Regions from separate parts of the Homo sapiens genome. Here region 2 is linked to region 1. Evidence: promoter capture Hi-C in human tissues and cell types (Jung and others, 2019). All regions are on one chromosome and are shown on one strand. Each heading gives the region's core, a stretch centred on a gene start or on the middle of the fragment in contact. The rest is flanking DNA. Distances are from core to core; before and after follow the strand shown.

Region 1 (7,069 bases), core at 2,622-5,121:
AAATTTCTGGAGATGATGACGGTGAGTAATATTTGCACATCATTAGGAAGGAAATGGCACTTTAAATTTAGTAATTAATTTTTCACTTTATGTAAGAGATGTTAAGATCTTCATAGAAAATATCTGGCCTTTAATAAGCTGCAGAAGAGTTAGGAATTATTAATTGGAGATCCCTGGCTGACCTTATTTATCACTCATTTCATAATCTGTAATTAATGCAAGTTTGGTGTTGTGATTGCTTCCAAGTGTAGACTAGTTGATTTTGCCACAAATTTCTAAATTACTGGATTTAGTAGTAATTTAGTAAATTGCCACTAAATTACAAAGGGACGAGGATATAGTTTTAGACATAACTGCAAATATATCGATGTTTATGTTGGTGGTAAAAAAAAAAAGTAAGGAAACGACATATACCCATGTATGAACTAAAGAGAATGTAGAATGTGTAAATAAACTTTATGAATAACTAACCTTATTAGCTCTGTTAATTAACCCATCTACCTGTTTGAGCCAGTTGGCGAGTACGGAAAAAAAAAGTAGGAAAATTTTCCTTAAAATTTTCTCTCCTGATTCAGATTAACATATTCACTATCTACTGTCACCCACAAATGGCTTTTGAACAGCTCTCACAGTTCCGCAGTCAGGCTGATGCCATTATACAGATGTGGGTAAACTCCAAAGATCAGGAGCTGAGTGGGAGGAGACTGAATAGTGCACTTTCAAGGATTTCACAGTAGTTTCCTCAGTTGTTGAGAGACGAGATTGTTAGCTAATCCTGTCTCTGGGACTACTGAACTATTTAGCCTTAGGAAAACCACTATGCCTAGCTGGAAGGGCATTAGTTCCTTCCTCTGTTGACATGCATGGTTTCCAAAGTCTCCTTCCACTTTACACTCTGATTGCATGATTCTCCCCACCTGTGTGATTTTAATAGTTAAAGTCATCTAACCCATGGTAATTGTGACAGTTTTCCTGAATGGACCAGGCAGCCATGGAGGTGTGCAAATCCTTCTCCTGTTCTTGAGTCTGAGGAGAGAAAGTGGCTCCAGAACTCTGGTGCATGCTATAGAATGAGTGGGCAACCTTGTGTCTTGTGAATTGATGTCTTGGGGTTTGATTGCTAGGAGGGGAAACCTACTAAAATGATTCTTAACCAAATGGGGGGTTTACTGGAAGGACACGGAATTTTCGTAGAACTTAAGGGCAGAACATTTAGCTGGATCTCATAAGGGACTGGGGAATCAGAAACTGAAAAGAAGGGAACTAAGATGTTCACCTCTCAGATAAGTCTTCTCTTTTTCCATCTTTCTCTCCTTATCCTTATTTCCTTCTCATCATTCCTGTTGCTTTCCCCCTTTTCCCATCAGTTTTGAACATCTTACTCATGCCTAACCTAATTCTAGGTTTGGACATTTCTAATTTAGCATGCAAGAGTGGAGCCCTATATGTGCATTGCAAAATCCATGCATGTGAGACTTTCTAGGCCTGTTTGAGTTCAGTGTTCATATTTGGTCTGGTTTGCTGTGGCAATGAGTATGGTTCGTTCAGCTCAGTGCCCATTCAGAAGAGACTCTTGGAGCACATTATCTTAAACAAGGATTGGAAATGAATATGCTCCTTAAGATTATTTTGGTTGCAAGCAGCAGCAATCTTCTTTGACTAGCCAAAAAAAAAAAAGTTTTGGAATTATACAGGGATATCTCCTATAACCAAAGGAAACAGGGCAGGTCCTGGATCTTTGGCAAAGGGTGTTAATAGATTTTTTCTTTAGGGAACTGCCATTTGTGACTCAGTTCTACTGAGTAACTATATTCTCTCTGTGTTTCTCTATGCCTCATTTAAGATTTCTGGGGCAAAGAGTCTAAATGGTCTGGTTTAGGATATGCCCACCTCTGAATTAATCTGTTATGTAGACAAGGGACATGGTAGCGCAACCAACTTGTCTCAGTTTTCGCAAAACTATCCCAGTTTAAGCACCGAAAGTCCAGCATCCTGGTATCCCCCTGTCTTTAGCAAACCAGAGTAGCTGGTCACACTAGGACATGGTCGCTTGTGCATATGTGGCCCATAAAAGGACTGCCTCTATGTATTTCAGCCATTCCTACAAAAAAAGGAATTGTGAGAAGCTATAAGGAAACATTTCACAGAGTGTCTATTACATTCTACTTCTTGGCACCCAGCGTGGGCACACACACACACACACACACACACACACACACCCCCCACATCACACCACATACACACTCTCTTCTTTCCATCCTTTCAAAAATACACCTTGCCGCTATGTGAATCAGTTATTTCAAGTATCACCACAAATGGACTACTAACCTTCCCAATGGGAGAAAACCCAAACGCGTGACCTTTTACTTCACTTAGAGTTGATGTTATGCCCTCTAAGTACAGACTTTCTACACGATATCCATTCCTCATTTTCTTCTACTGTAATCCTATCTCCATATATTGCAATGTATGGCCTTTTGCTGGCAAAAGGAGAAAAAAAGAAAAATGTATGTATTATACCATTCCTTTTTAAAAAGGCAAAGAAAGGGCTTGGTGTGCAAGAGAGTATTTATTAAACACTGGTAGCAAAGAAAACAAACAAAAAATGCAACAGTCCTCATTACTGTAGCTGGTGTTGAAGCTTCTTTCTTCTGGGCCCATTCCATAGTTCCCTGTGACTTCAGTTAGCATCTCAGTTGGTTGGGGTGATTTGCTCAATGCAGCAACCTGAGGGGTATGATCCCTTGTGGTCCTGCCTTTATAGGGTTGTGGTAGCCGTCTATTGCCTTTACATCTGGGTATGGCAGTTCAAGAAAGCACCCTCAAGGATAAAACATGCTATTCATGATGTATTATTTTTCTTTGATGACTAGGACAATCCCCCTAGTCAACCCCATGACTCACTGTTTTGTCTATTCCCTTAGATGACCCCACGGATTCCGTTGCACGGAGTCTCTGAAGTCCAAAATTTTTAAGCATAGGGCACAACGTTCTTCATGATTTGGCCTTGTCTCTTCTCATTATGCTTGCTCTTGCATCTGCCATCTGACACTTTGCTTAACTCCTGGCCAGCTACCGGTACAAGCCAAGCTCTCACTCCATAACGTCCTTCTTCTCTGCATGCCCTTCTCCACTGTGCCTGTCCTTTAACTCTTATTCATCATTTATTTCAGTCTCAATTGAAGAGTCATTATTTCTAGAAAGCCTTCTCCGCCCAGCTCTCTACATTGCACCGTTCCCTACAGCACCACCAGAGTGCCTCTAACACTTGATGGTTTCATTGCTTATATATTTTTGTTTCTGTGCATAAGCCTCCCGAGGGAGCCGCCGCTGTTCGATTTATTCTATAGCTAGTTCCTCGCCCTGAGTGTAAGCCTCACGAGAGTGGGGCTGTCCTCTGTTCGCTCTATCCCCAGCCCCTACAGCAGTGCCTGGTTGTTCACAGGCCTATATAGCAGGTGATAATAATCTGAATAATGAAAGAAGAAACACTGTCTTGTGGCGTGATTTACTTCTGTTTTTACTTATGTCAACTTTTAACTAGATTGTGAGGACAGAGGTCAGTGTCTGAGTCATCTTGTGCCTCACTGGGCTTGGGCAGAATAGACGCTTGGTCAAGCATTTGCACACTGGTCGATGGATACACTAGAAAGAGCAGGAGCGCGAGAGGGAATTTTTTTGGCGCCTGCCTCGCCCTTTCAAGCCAAGCCCCTCTGCCCTCTGCCCCTTGCCAGCCGCCCGTCGCCCGCCGCCGGCGATCCCTCTCCCGGGGAGCGGTAGTCAAGCGAGGCCAGCGGGCCGGGAGCGGGCCGGGAGCGGGCGAGGGGCGGGACTTCCGGTCCCGCTCGCGACGCGGACCGCGCCAGGCGGAAGCCCGGCTCCGGGCCAGCATCCGAGAGCCCGGACTGGAGGTGAGTTCGCAGCCGGAACGTTGCAGGCACTTGTTTCCTCAGTGGATGCCTTTCGGCGCGCCGCCGCCCGGCGCCGCGGGACTGGGAGACCGGGTAGGGACGGGAGAGTCGGCATCTCCCGCGCGTGTGGAGGGAAATCCGGGACCCCAGGCTTGAGAGAAGGGCCAGGACTGAGAACGGGGAACCAGGAGAGCCCTAAGGGCAGCCTTTAGGGACTGAGGAGGGAGGCACCGGGGACCCTGAGGCCAAAGAGGCCCTGAGACTGGAGGTTGCGGATGACACGGGGCAGAGTTGCATCTCGGAGGAAAGTAGTCATTCGTGGGGGCGTGTCCCGGGTCCTGGCGGATTGACTGAGAGGATGGCAGGAGATGGCAAAGGTTGGCTTCCAGGGAGAGGTTACAGAGGAGGGAGTCAGTCCTTCTCTGAGGGTCGTAGGTGAGAAGGACGTCTTGACCTAACGAACCAGAAAGATGACCAGCCACCTATTGGATGCTGAACTCCTATTGCTTCATTTGCAATTCATGCAGTTTGTTTTTTGTTTTTAGAAATATATCCCGCTCCGCGCGTGTGGATTTCGGGAAAATATTGTATATTCCTAGGGACCGCTCGAATTCTTGCTTCACCCAGATTCTGCGTGTCTTTGTCAAACTGATAGTAGTTGAGAGTTCTCTTCACCCAAGGAAGACAACCAAAGTTTTCCTTTTGGACTCTTCTCTACCCTGCAGAGTTTAGCTTGTCTTATTTCCCTTGTCATGGGATGAACTAAATGCGTTCAGAATTATGGTGATAATCACATGGAAAGCCAGTGCTGTCAATGTTTGCAGTTTCAACTCATTGTTTTTCTGTCCAACTTTCTAACACATTTTTTCTAAAAGCTATTTTGTTGGGTTTAGTCTTTTAGTTTAACCAATAAAGGCAATTTTACATCAGGGTGCAGCAAATTACTAGCAGTTCTTAAGATTTTACTGTTCCTTTTTATTTCTGCTGTAAGGAAATATATATATATATATATATATATATATATAAATATTTGCCATTGTCAGTGTTTTTTAAAAATATTGATAACCCAAGATCTGTTGTTACACGCACATTAGCACATTTAGTTTTCCCCAGTGGCCAGTGTTTGGTATGTGGGCTCATTATTATTACCAAAGGTAATTATTGATTTAGTTATTATTTACCTTGCATTTATGTTTTATTGGATGTGATTAATATGTGCTTCCTAATCTACATAATATAGTGTTTCACTCAGTGTAATTACAAAGATTCTCCTAGCTTTTAAGTAGGTAGTAAGTGAATTGGATTTTTGCCACAAAGTGAGCAAGGTAGCTAGGAAGAATCATAACACTGTCACTGATGGAGGGTGAGATCTGATGATTGCTTTGCTTGTTTCAGGTGTTTCACATTTCAAATGTTAGAAGTTTTTGTTTTAAAAATTACTGTATTAGTACAGGTAACTTTTAGATCTGATTTGGTGGTCTGACTTGAACTAATTCAGGAAAACTAGAACATTTTATATTTATTGGTACTGCGATATCTTGCTAGCTTATAAATTCTTGATGGCCTTGAATATCTGTGCTTGAGTGAAATACACAGTTATAACGTCCTTATGTTTAGGAGGACTGCTGATATTTACAAGTGTAAAGCAAGGCCTAAACATAAACAGTGCCTTAACATGTAAATGAGCATATTGAATAAGTTTTCAAATTACAAAATGAAGAGATAACACTGATCTCTAAAGTAATTGAATTAACTGCCATGTTAATTTCTGTATATGTCTCAATTTAATCTTATTTGTTTAAGTAGACAATATTGTTTATCTGATAAGACTTGATTTTATTTTTCTTCCGCCTTTTCCCATGGTTTTTGAGAAATAAAGCACTTGAGAAAGCATGCAAGTCTTTAGACATTAGTTCATGGTTGGAGGAAGTGCTCGTTGTTGAAACACAAGAGCACTTGCCCTCTTGGGCAAGTTGGGCTAGCTATATATATGAATGGTATGTTGAGGTTGGATTGCCCTGTATTCCGGAAAATCTTTGGAATTGTATTCTTTCTTCTAATTGTTTAGTAAATTTAGCTTTCTCTCTAGATAAATTATTTTTGTTATTCCGTAGGATTTAGATGTATTTTACAGTTTAACCAATAATGGCAGTTTTTGATTAAGTACAGCGAACTGCTGGCTATTTTATAGATTCACTATTTCTTTTTATTTCTGAAATATGTACAGTGTCTGTATTGGAAGAACTATCAAAATAGTGATAACCAAAACACTGTCTTCATATACACATACATTTGTCTTCCTTAATCTCTAGTTTGTAAAATACGAAATAATTTGCTAAGTTGAGCTCGTTGCTTCTATGCCCTTTGGTTATCAATTTTCTGATTATATAGTACGTTCTCAATTATCGGCATACTCTAGTTAGAAAGCCATTTCCTGCCACTTGATAGAATCAAGAATATTTGTTACAATGGGGAAGTACAGTTTTTGGATGAGGAGCTACGAAAGACTGCTGATCTGTTAACTTAAGGTCCAGCTGCTGCACTGCCTCTGATGAAAAGCATGGCCCTTAATGAGGTTGACTCACACAGGGTTGACTGCTTTTAGTAATACTTTCTGTCCTTTTCCTCTGGTGAGTTAGACCTTTTCTCCAATAGTGACCAAGATGACTTGGGCCTCAGAGTGACTCAAAAGGGGATGAATCACTGCAGTCCTGTTAGTAGGGCCCTGTCCATTCTGCTGAATCTGATCCCATAAATCTTGGCACATTTTCCAGCCTATAGGCATGTAGTTATGACTGTGAACCTCTTGTTTAGGTTATTGTTTTAAAAATACTTTTAATACTAAATCATAATTTGTTGGATTATATAAATAGACTCAGTTTTGCTTTGAGTGAGGCATCACATTACACTGTAGATGAACTTTTCTGTTAAAGTGATAGGCTATAACTCACAATGGCAAATATTGTAGAAAACACACTGATTGCCCTTAACCTTTGTTGTTATTATTAGTTTTGTTTTTAATTTTGAGAGCCTAAGGAATAGAAGAACTATTGGATAAATGATTTGCATGGGGGGGTGGGGGAAGTTGACCACTACCAGTGACATACTAGGGGTCTTGATGGTGGGAGCTGTCTGCTATAGTTGGAAAGAGTATTTTA
Region 2 (7,358 bases), core at 3,236-5,735, 900 kb after region 1:
CTTGCCTCCTGGCAAGGGTGGGATGTAATACCCTAAGCTCCAACAGACTGGGGAAAGAGAAGGGGCTTAGAAAACTGTCTGGGCTGCTGGATTTCTTTCCGGAGTTTCCCTCTCTCCTTCTACTGTCAGCACGTCCCATCTTTTGCAACACCAGGGAGAAGCCTTTCCATGCCTCTTCAGCTCTTGGAATCCCTCCAGAAGCCCCCTCCCTCCTGAGTGGCATCTAACAGGCCTGTCCAATACTCATGCTACAGCTATGAGGAAAGAATAAACCCTGCAGCTGCTTCAGAAGAGAAAGAAATCTCTTTTCAAATGAAACCGTTTTTTGCAGCCCTGTGGAATTCATATTCTCTGTGATCTCCTTTGGATTCAAATCACGGACCTGAAAGAGGGAGGGGAAGAAAACAGGTTCTTTTCCTCTGCCTGGGCCTGCCGTTCCCTCTGCCCTCCTACACTGGGTATGGACAGACCCCAAGGGACCATGGTCTAGGTGTTGGCAGCCAGGCTGGCTCTACAACACAACATGTCAGCTGCTCTGCTGGGCCTCTGTTTACTCATCCATTAAATGAGGAGATAAGATCTCCCTTGACTGGCTGTGAAGATTAAGTGCACAAATATGTGTAAAGTGCACAAATATGTCAAATAAAAACTGAGACTGACACGTGGAGGTGCAAAATTAAAAAGGAAGCTTTGGTTAGTATCTCCAGAACCTGGCTAGGCACGGTGGCTCACATCTGTAATCTCAGCGCTTTGGGAGGCCGAGATGGGTGGATCACCTGAGGTCAGGAGTTCAAGACCAGCCTGGACAACATGGCGAAACCCCGTCTCTATTAAAAATACAAAAATTAGCTGGGCATGGCAGTGAGCCCCTGTAATCCCAGCTACTCAAGAGGCTGAGGCAGGAGAATTGCTTGAACCCGGGAGGCGGAGGTTGCAGTGAGCCGAGATCACGCCACTGCACTCCAGCCTGGGTGACAGAGTGAGACTCCACCTCAAAAAAAAAAAAAAAAAAATCCAGAACCTGCAGATTGTGCCTCTGATGCATCTCAAACATCCAGGGCCAGGGAGAAAATAATCTAAAGAAAAATACTACTGAAAAAGATTCCATTGCCATGGCCCTCTGAGACACACACATTCTTATTCTCTTATTTTCTCTCTCTCTCTCTCTTCTTCTCTCTCTCTCTCTTTCTATCTCTCTCTCTCACTCCCTCTCTCATTTACTCACAAGGTCAGTGGCCCAGACCCAGGCAGTTCTGGATAATCCCAGCTGTTTCTGACTCACCACCATCCTCAGGGCTGGCTGACTCACTCCAGGAAGGTTTTCCACCATGAAGTGTTTGTCTATGTCCTTGTGTTCCCGTGAAAAGGATTGTGTGGTCAGAGAAAGAGAAGACTTTGCTGGGTCAGTGAGATAGCATAGTGTGAGAGGCTTTGGGAAGTAGAAAAAGCAACATTAACTCAGGTTTAAAAACTAGACTTTGTCCAAATGGTTGGGGAAAGTAGTCATTGTATGTGTTTGCAATTAAATTTGGGTGGCATAGGACAGCCTAAAGCCCTTTGTAAGCAGAGCTCTATGTGCGCAGCGATCCCTAGAAGGCTGGCAAGGGGAGTGGCCAGGGCTGCACCAAAGAGGGTGTTGCCTAGCTGGGGAAGAGGAACTTCAGGTGAGCCAGGAGGCTCTTCTGCTCCCAGGCTGTGCAAAGCTTCTGAGTTGACTGGAATGATAGGTCTGATCTGCCCATTTGTTGCTAAAATGACTTAGGAGGGAAATGACCTCCACCTGCCTGGGAGGAGTCACTTCCTCCAGAGATGAGCTGTCCTTGAGGAGATCAGTGGGAGGAGAAGCCTGCGCTCTGCCCCACTGGGCAGAAGGACAAGCTTTCTCCCAAGAGCCTCGAGCCCAGAAGAAGTCGGGGTGGGGCCAATGGAAATCAGACAGTGGAACAAATGAACAGCTTCCAGGACAGGGCTGTCGCTTTCCTCTGTTTTCAATTGTGATGGCTTCATGAAACCCTTGCACCAGAAACCCATGAGCTAGAAATGAATGCCTGTATCCCCATCTCTGGACTCAGAGTCCAGAGTGCCAACCATTACACAATGGAACCTGTGTCCCCGCCTTATTCAAGAGTAAAGAAAGCAAAGCCTGGTGGTGGACGGTGGTACCTGCCCATCAGGCAGCATGCCCAGACTTGCAAACCAGAGATGGAGGATGTCAAATAAAAACAAAACCATGGGAGACTGAGGCAGGAGAATCACTTGAACCGGGAGGCGGAGGTTGCAATGAGCCAAGATCGCGCCATTGCACTCCAGCCCGGGCAACAAGAGTGAAACTCTGTTTAAAAAAAAAAAAAAATCCAGACTTTTATAAAGGGACACTTCAATAGAAAGAAAGACTATTGCAGGCCAGGCGCAGTGGCTCACACCTGTAATCCTAGCACTTTGGGAGGCCAAAGCAGGTGGATCACCTGAGGTCAGGAGTTCAAGACCAGCCTGGCCAACATGAGGAAACCCCGTCTCTACTAAAAATACAAAAAAATTAGCTGCACATGGCGGCTGGTACCTGTAATCCCAGCTACTCAGGAGGCTGAGGCAGGAGAATCACTTGCACCCGGGAGGCGAAGGTTGCAGTGAGTGGAGATTGCACCACTGCACTCCAGCCTGGGCAACAAGAGTGAAACAAGAAAGAAAGAGCGAAAGAGAGAGAGAGAGAGAAAGAGAGAAGGAGAGAAGGAGAGGAAGGGAAGAAGGGAGGGAGAAAGAAAGAAAAAATAGAGAAAAAGAGAAGGAAGGAAGGAAAAGAAAGAAAAGAGAAGAGAAAAGAAAAAAAAAGAGAGAAAGACAATTCCAATTCAGAGAATCTGCAAGCAGCTCAAAATCAAACAGAAAAAGATTCTTCTTTTCTAGGGTAAAGGAGGAGCAAGTGGAGATAAGCAGACTCTTGGGAGGGGAAGCTGGACAAGTGAGGGGAAATGACCAGTGGGAGCTGACAGGAAAAGGGTCTTGCTGTGTTCAGTCAATTCCCAGGAGAAGCTGGGCAGGGAAGTGACTTGGCAGGGACACTCCACTTTGTTTGTGCTTGTTCAGGCTTGGGGGCAAGCAGCATTCAGGGATCTGTAGGAAAGAGAGAAGTCTGACCAAAGTTTTGTCAAGCAAAGGGGGTAAGCAATGGGTGTCAGAGACAAGAATAGATGGGGGCAGAGGAATAATAGTGACAAAAATACTTGCTTTAAGAAAAGGTAACATCATGGCTCTCATATTAGTATAAAATAAACACATTTTAAAGATTCCATTTCGGCAGGGTGCAGTGGCTCACACCTGTAATCCCAGCACTTTGGGAGGCAGAGGTGGGCAGATCACCTGAGGTCAGGAGTTCGAGACCAGCCTAGCCAACGTGGAGAAACCCTGTCCCTACTAAAAATACAAAATTAGCCAGGCATGGTGGCAGGCACCTGTAATCCCAACTACTCGGGAGGCTGAGATAGGAGAATCACTTGAACCTGGGAGGTGGAGGTTGTGGTGAGCCGAAATTGTGCCATTGCACTCCAGCCTGGGCCAACAAGAGTGAAACTCCATCTCAAAAAAAAAAAAGAGTCCATTTAACTTGATTAAACGAGGCAATCTGGTGGATGTTATAACTGGTTCAAAGGAGAAACCAAAGCAGCACAATTTACATGACGTGAAGAGTACTGAAATGGAATATGCAACTAGACAAAAAACTGGTCTCTCTACAGGGGGACTGTAGTGCCTCTACTGGACAGAATGCATTTGCATATCTATAGGAAAAATTATTTTCCATTGCTACAGTTATCTACAACTTAGATTACTTACTTAGAGTTACTTAGGTAACTATACATTGCTACAGTTATATACAACTTAGAGTTATAAAATAACTCAAAAACAATGAAAGGGGCTCGTGTGGTGGCTCACACCTGTAATCCCAACACTTTGGGAAGCTGAGGCAGGCGGATCACCTGAGGTCAGGAATTCGAGACCAGCCTGGCCAACACGGTGAAACCCCATCTCTACAAAAAATATAGAAAATTAGCCAGATGTGGTGGTGTGCACCTGTAATCCCAGCTACGTTGGAGGCTGAGGCAGGAGAATCGCTGGAACCCGGGAGGCAGAAGATGCAGTTAGCTGAGATCGTCAAGATCCTGTCACTGCACTCCAGCCTGGGTGACAGGGTGCTACATCTCAAGAAAAACAAAAACAACAACAACAACAACAAAAACAATGAAAGGCTAGACCCAGATCTTCTGGAAGGAGATGCTCTAAACCAGGGTTTCTCAGCCTCTACATGACTGATGTCTTGGACTAGATCATGTTTTGGGTGGAGAATGTAAACCAAAAATAAAATTCTAAGCCTCCCCCTCCCCTACCCCCGCCAACCATCTAAATGGATGGTTCCTCCTTAGCCGAGGCTCTTAAAATTTTAACCTGAAATTTTCAGGCCATGAAGGAAAGGCAAGGTCGGACATGCTTCATTATACCTCTCCAGCGTGAACATCAACCAGAGTTTAGGTCTGATAAGAAACATTTTACTGCCTGTTCACTCTGAAGCCTGCTAGCTAAAAGCTTCATCTATGTGATAAAACTTTTGTCTCCACAACCTCTTATCGCAACCCAAACATTCCTTTCTATTGATCCTGGGCCTTTAGACAAACTCAACCAATTGTCAACCAGAAAATGTTTAAATATTTACCTATATCCTGGAAGCCACCCCCACTACCCACCCACCACCCCCCGCCACTTTGAGTTGTCCCGCCTTTCTGAACCAAACCAATGTATTTCTTAAATGTACTTGACTGATGGCTCTTGCCTCCCTAACATGTATAAAACCAAGCTGCACCCCAACCACCTCGGGCACATGTCCTCAGGACTTCCTGTGTCACAGGTGTGCATCTTCAACCATGGCAAAAGAAACTTTCTAAATTAAATGAGACCTGTTTCAGATTTTCTGGGTTCACAAGAGCTATCTTGGACATTGGAAGATGTTCAGCGGCATCCCTGGCTTCTACTTAGTAAAGGCCAGTAGCACCTCATCTCCTAGCTGTGACCATAAAAACTATCTCCAGACATTCCCAAATGTCTCCTGGGGTGGGTAGGGGACAAAACTGCCCCCAGTTGAGAACCACTGCTGTAGACCATGCACAGTTTTCCAGTGAAACCCAAATTCTTCCCTACTACTGTAGAGAAGAAGAGGAGGTAATTTCTGCCCATCTGCATTTCTTGGCACGCACCCATGTCTCTGTGTGTGAGATGAGAATCACACCCTAGCTCCACAACAGAGTGGTCACAGTAGCCAACACAGGCAGTATTCTAAATGCTCTCTCCCTATAGTAACCCAACTAATCCTGCCAGTTAAATATGAGTTTCAGGTAAACAATGAATCATATTTTCTTTTAGAATAAGTATGTATGCCCATGCAATATTTGGGCCCTACATATACTTTAAAAGTATCTGTTGTTTATCTGAAATTCAAATTAAACATTTGGGAGGGTTGTTGTTTTATTGGCCAAATCATTTTATTTTATTTTATTTTTGATATGGAGTTTCGCTTTGTCACCCAGGCTGGAGCGCAGTGGCGCGATCTCGTCTCACTGCAACTTCTCCCTCCTGGGTTCAAGCGTTTCTCCTGTCTCAGCCTCCCGAGTAACTGAGATCACAGGTGCCTGCCACGACGTATTTTTAGTAGAGACGGAATTTCACCATGTTGACCAGGCTGGTCTCGAACTCCTGACCCCAGGTGATCCGCCTGCCTCCGGCCTCCCAAAGTGTTGGGATTACAGGTGTGAACTACCGCACCCAGCCTTATTGGCCAAATCTGACAACCCTATCTATAATCAAATAAACAGCTGAGCAGTAGTAATTGCAGCATTGTGATTGCAATAGGCCTCCGGTGGCTTAGAGTCCCTGTTCTGCCTGTGACTGTTGTGCCACATTGGGGACGTCATTTAGCGTCTCCGAGGCTCAGTTTTCTCATCTGTAAAATGGGGACAATATCAGCGCCTTCTTCAGAGTCGCTGGGAGGATTAAATGAGATGATGTATGCAGAGCCGTTAAGACGCTGTTTGGCACAAAGTTCAGGGCAGCTGGTTTAGTTTCCTCGACTTCACTACCTGACCCTCTGCTAACTCCCCGGGTGTTTTCCGGACGGCCACAACTATCCTAGCCTTCTTCCCTATGGGCTGCAAAGGTGGCCTCGGGTTCCGGTGGGAGCCCCAACTCTGGACCGCGATTCGCGAGCCTCCCCGGCGCCGGGCCGCGCCATCCCGGGAGCTGTCCGCAGATGGCAGCACCGGCCCCGGGTCGCGGCGTTCCCGGCGCTCGGCAGGCCGCAGGATGGCCTGGTCCCGGGCCGGGAGCCCAGCAGGCCGGGAGCGGCTGAGGCCACACCCCGCGGGCCGGGCCGCTTCCCTCCGGTGAATCATCGCTCGCAGCGGCGGCGCCCGCAGTGGCCGCAGCAGCGCGCCGGGCCCTGGCCGCGCCCCAGCCGAGCGCAGCGCGGAGTCGCCCCGACCTTTCTCTGCGCAGTACGGCCGCCGGGACCGCAGCATGGCGGGCATCGCGGCCAAGCTGGCGAAGGACCGGGAGGCGGCCGAGGGGCTGGGCTCCCACGACAGGGCCATCAAGTACCTCAACCAGGACTACGAGGCGCTGCGGAACGAGTGCCTGGAGGCCGGGACGCTCTTCCAGGACCCGTCCTTCCCGGCCATCCCCTCGGCCCTGGGCTTCAAGGAGTTGGGGCCCTACTCCAGCAAAACCCGGGGCATCGAGTGGAAGCGCCCCACGGTAGGAAGCGCGCGGCAGGACGCGGGCAGGGCGGGGTGCCGGGCAGGGCGGGGTGCAGGCCGGCCCGCGGCGCGCTGGGGCGGGGGGCAGCCCGGGTGCTGCAGTGGGGAAGCCGCAAGCCAGGACCTCGCAGTCCTGCGACACCTCCGCGCCGCCAGAGCCCGGGACTCTGTTCGAGCGTGGGGGGACTCCCGGGGCCTTCCCTCTCTTCCACCCACCACGCTTTCCTGGGCGGGTCGAGGCGAATCACTGCCCTCAGATCCCACTAGCAGGCCACTTTAGGACTTCACAAAAACTCAGGGTGATGCAGGAGGCCGGGGTGAAACTTTGATTGGACTCTAGCGGGGAGCTGGAAGGGAAGGGGAATCGGGTCTGCAGGGAAGGGACGGTGAGAGGCAGCATCTACCAGACAAAGTCCGTCTCCAACTGGGGTTCTGTCTGTTCATGGAGGGGGACAGGCCATAGCCTGGTCATTTTGTGACTAAGGATAGTCTCCTGCAGCCCTGGGGTTAGATTTATTTTTCCAAAGGGGAGCCAGCGATACCTCCTCATAACATTGACACTGG

What was found. The method cuts DNA at HindIII sites, captures the fragments that hold promoters and counts their contacts. A contact is called where the count stands out against the background at its distance.
Region 2: a fragment that was not itself captured here is called in contact with the fragment with the promoter of DISP1 in region 1 in 1 of the 25 tissues and cell types used here (hippocampus).

What each region holds. Positions count from the first base shown.
Region 1 is chr1:222,811,168-222,818,236 of GRCh38, forward strand. DISP1 (dispatched RND transporter family member 1) reads left to right here and starts at 3,872. Exons shown (of 9, transcript NM_001377229.1): 1 at 3,872-3,911. RefSeq lists an enhancer at 3,263-3,322 and silencers at 3,563-3,642, 3,733-3,832. The HindIII fragment of the contact is 9,383 bases long and covers 928-7,069 here.
Region 2 is chr1:223,706,086-223,713,443 of GRCh38, forward strand. It overlaps CAPN2 (calpain 2), which reads left to right and starts at 6,454. Exons shown (of 21, transcript NM_001748.5): 1 at 6,454-6,792. The coding sequence starts at 6,556. LOC105373281 (a long non-coding RNA gene) reads right to left here and starts at 1,565. Exons shown (of 3, transcript XR_949164.2): 1 at 1,283-1,565. RefSeq lists enhancers at 574-1,773, 1,774-2,273, 6,051-6,100, 6,140-7,091 and silencers at 6,201-6,590, 6,801-6,920. The HindIII fragment of the contact is 6,580 bases long and covers 1,196-7,358 here.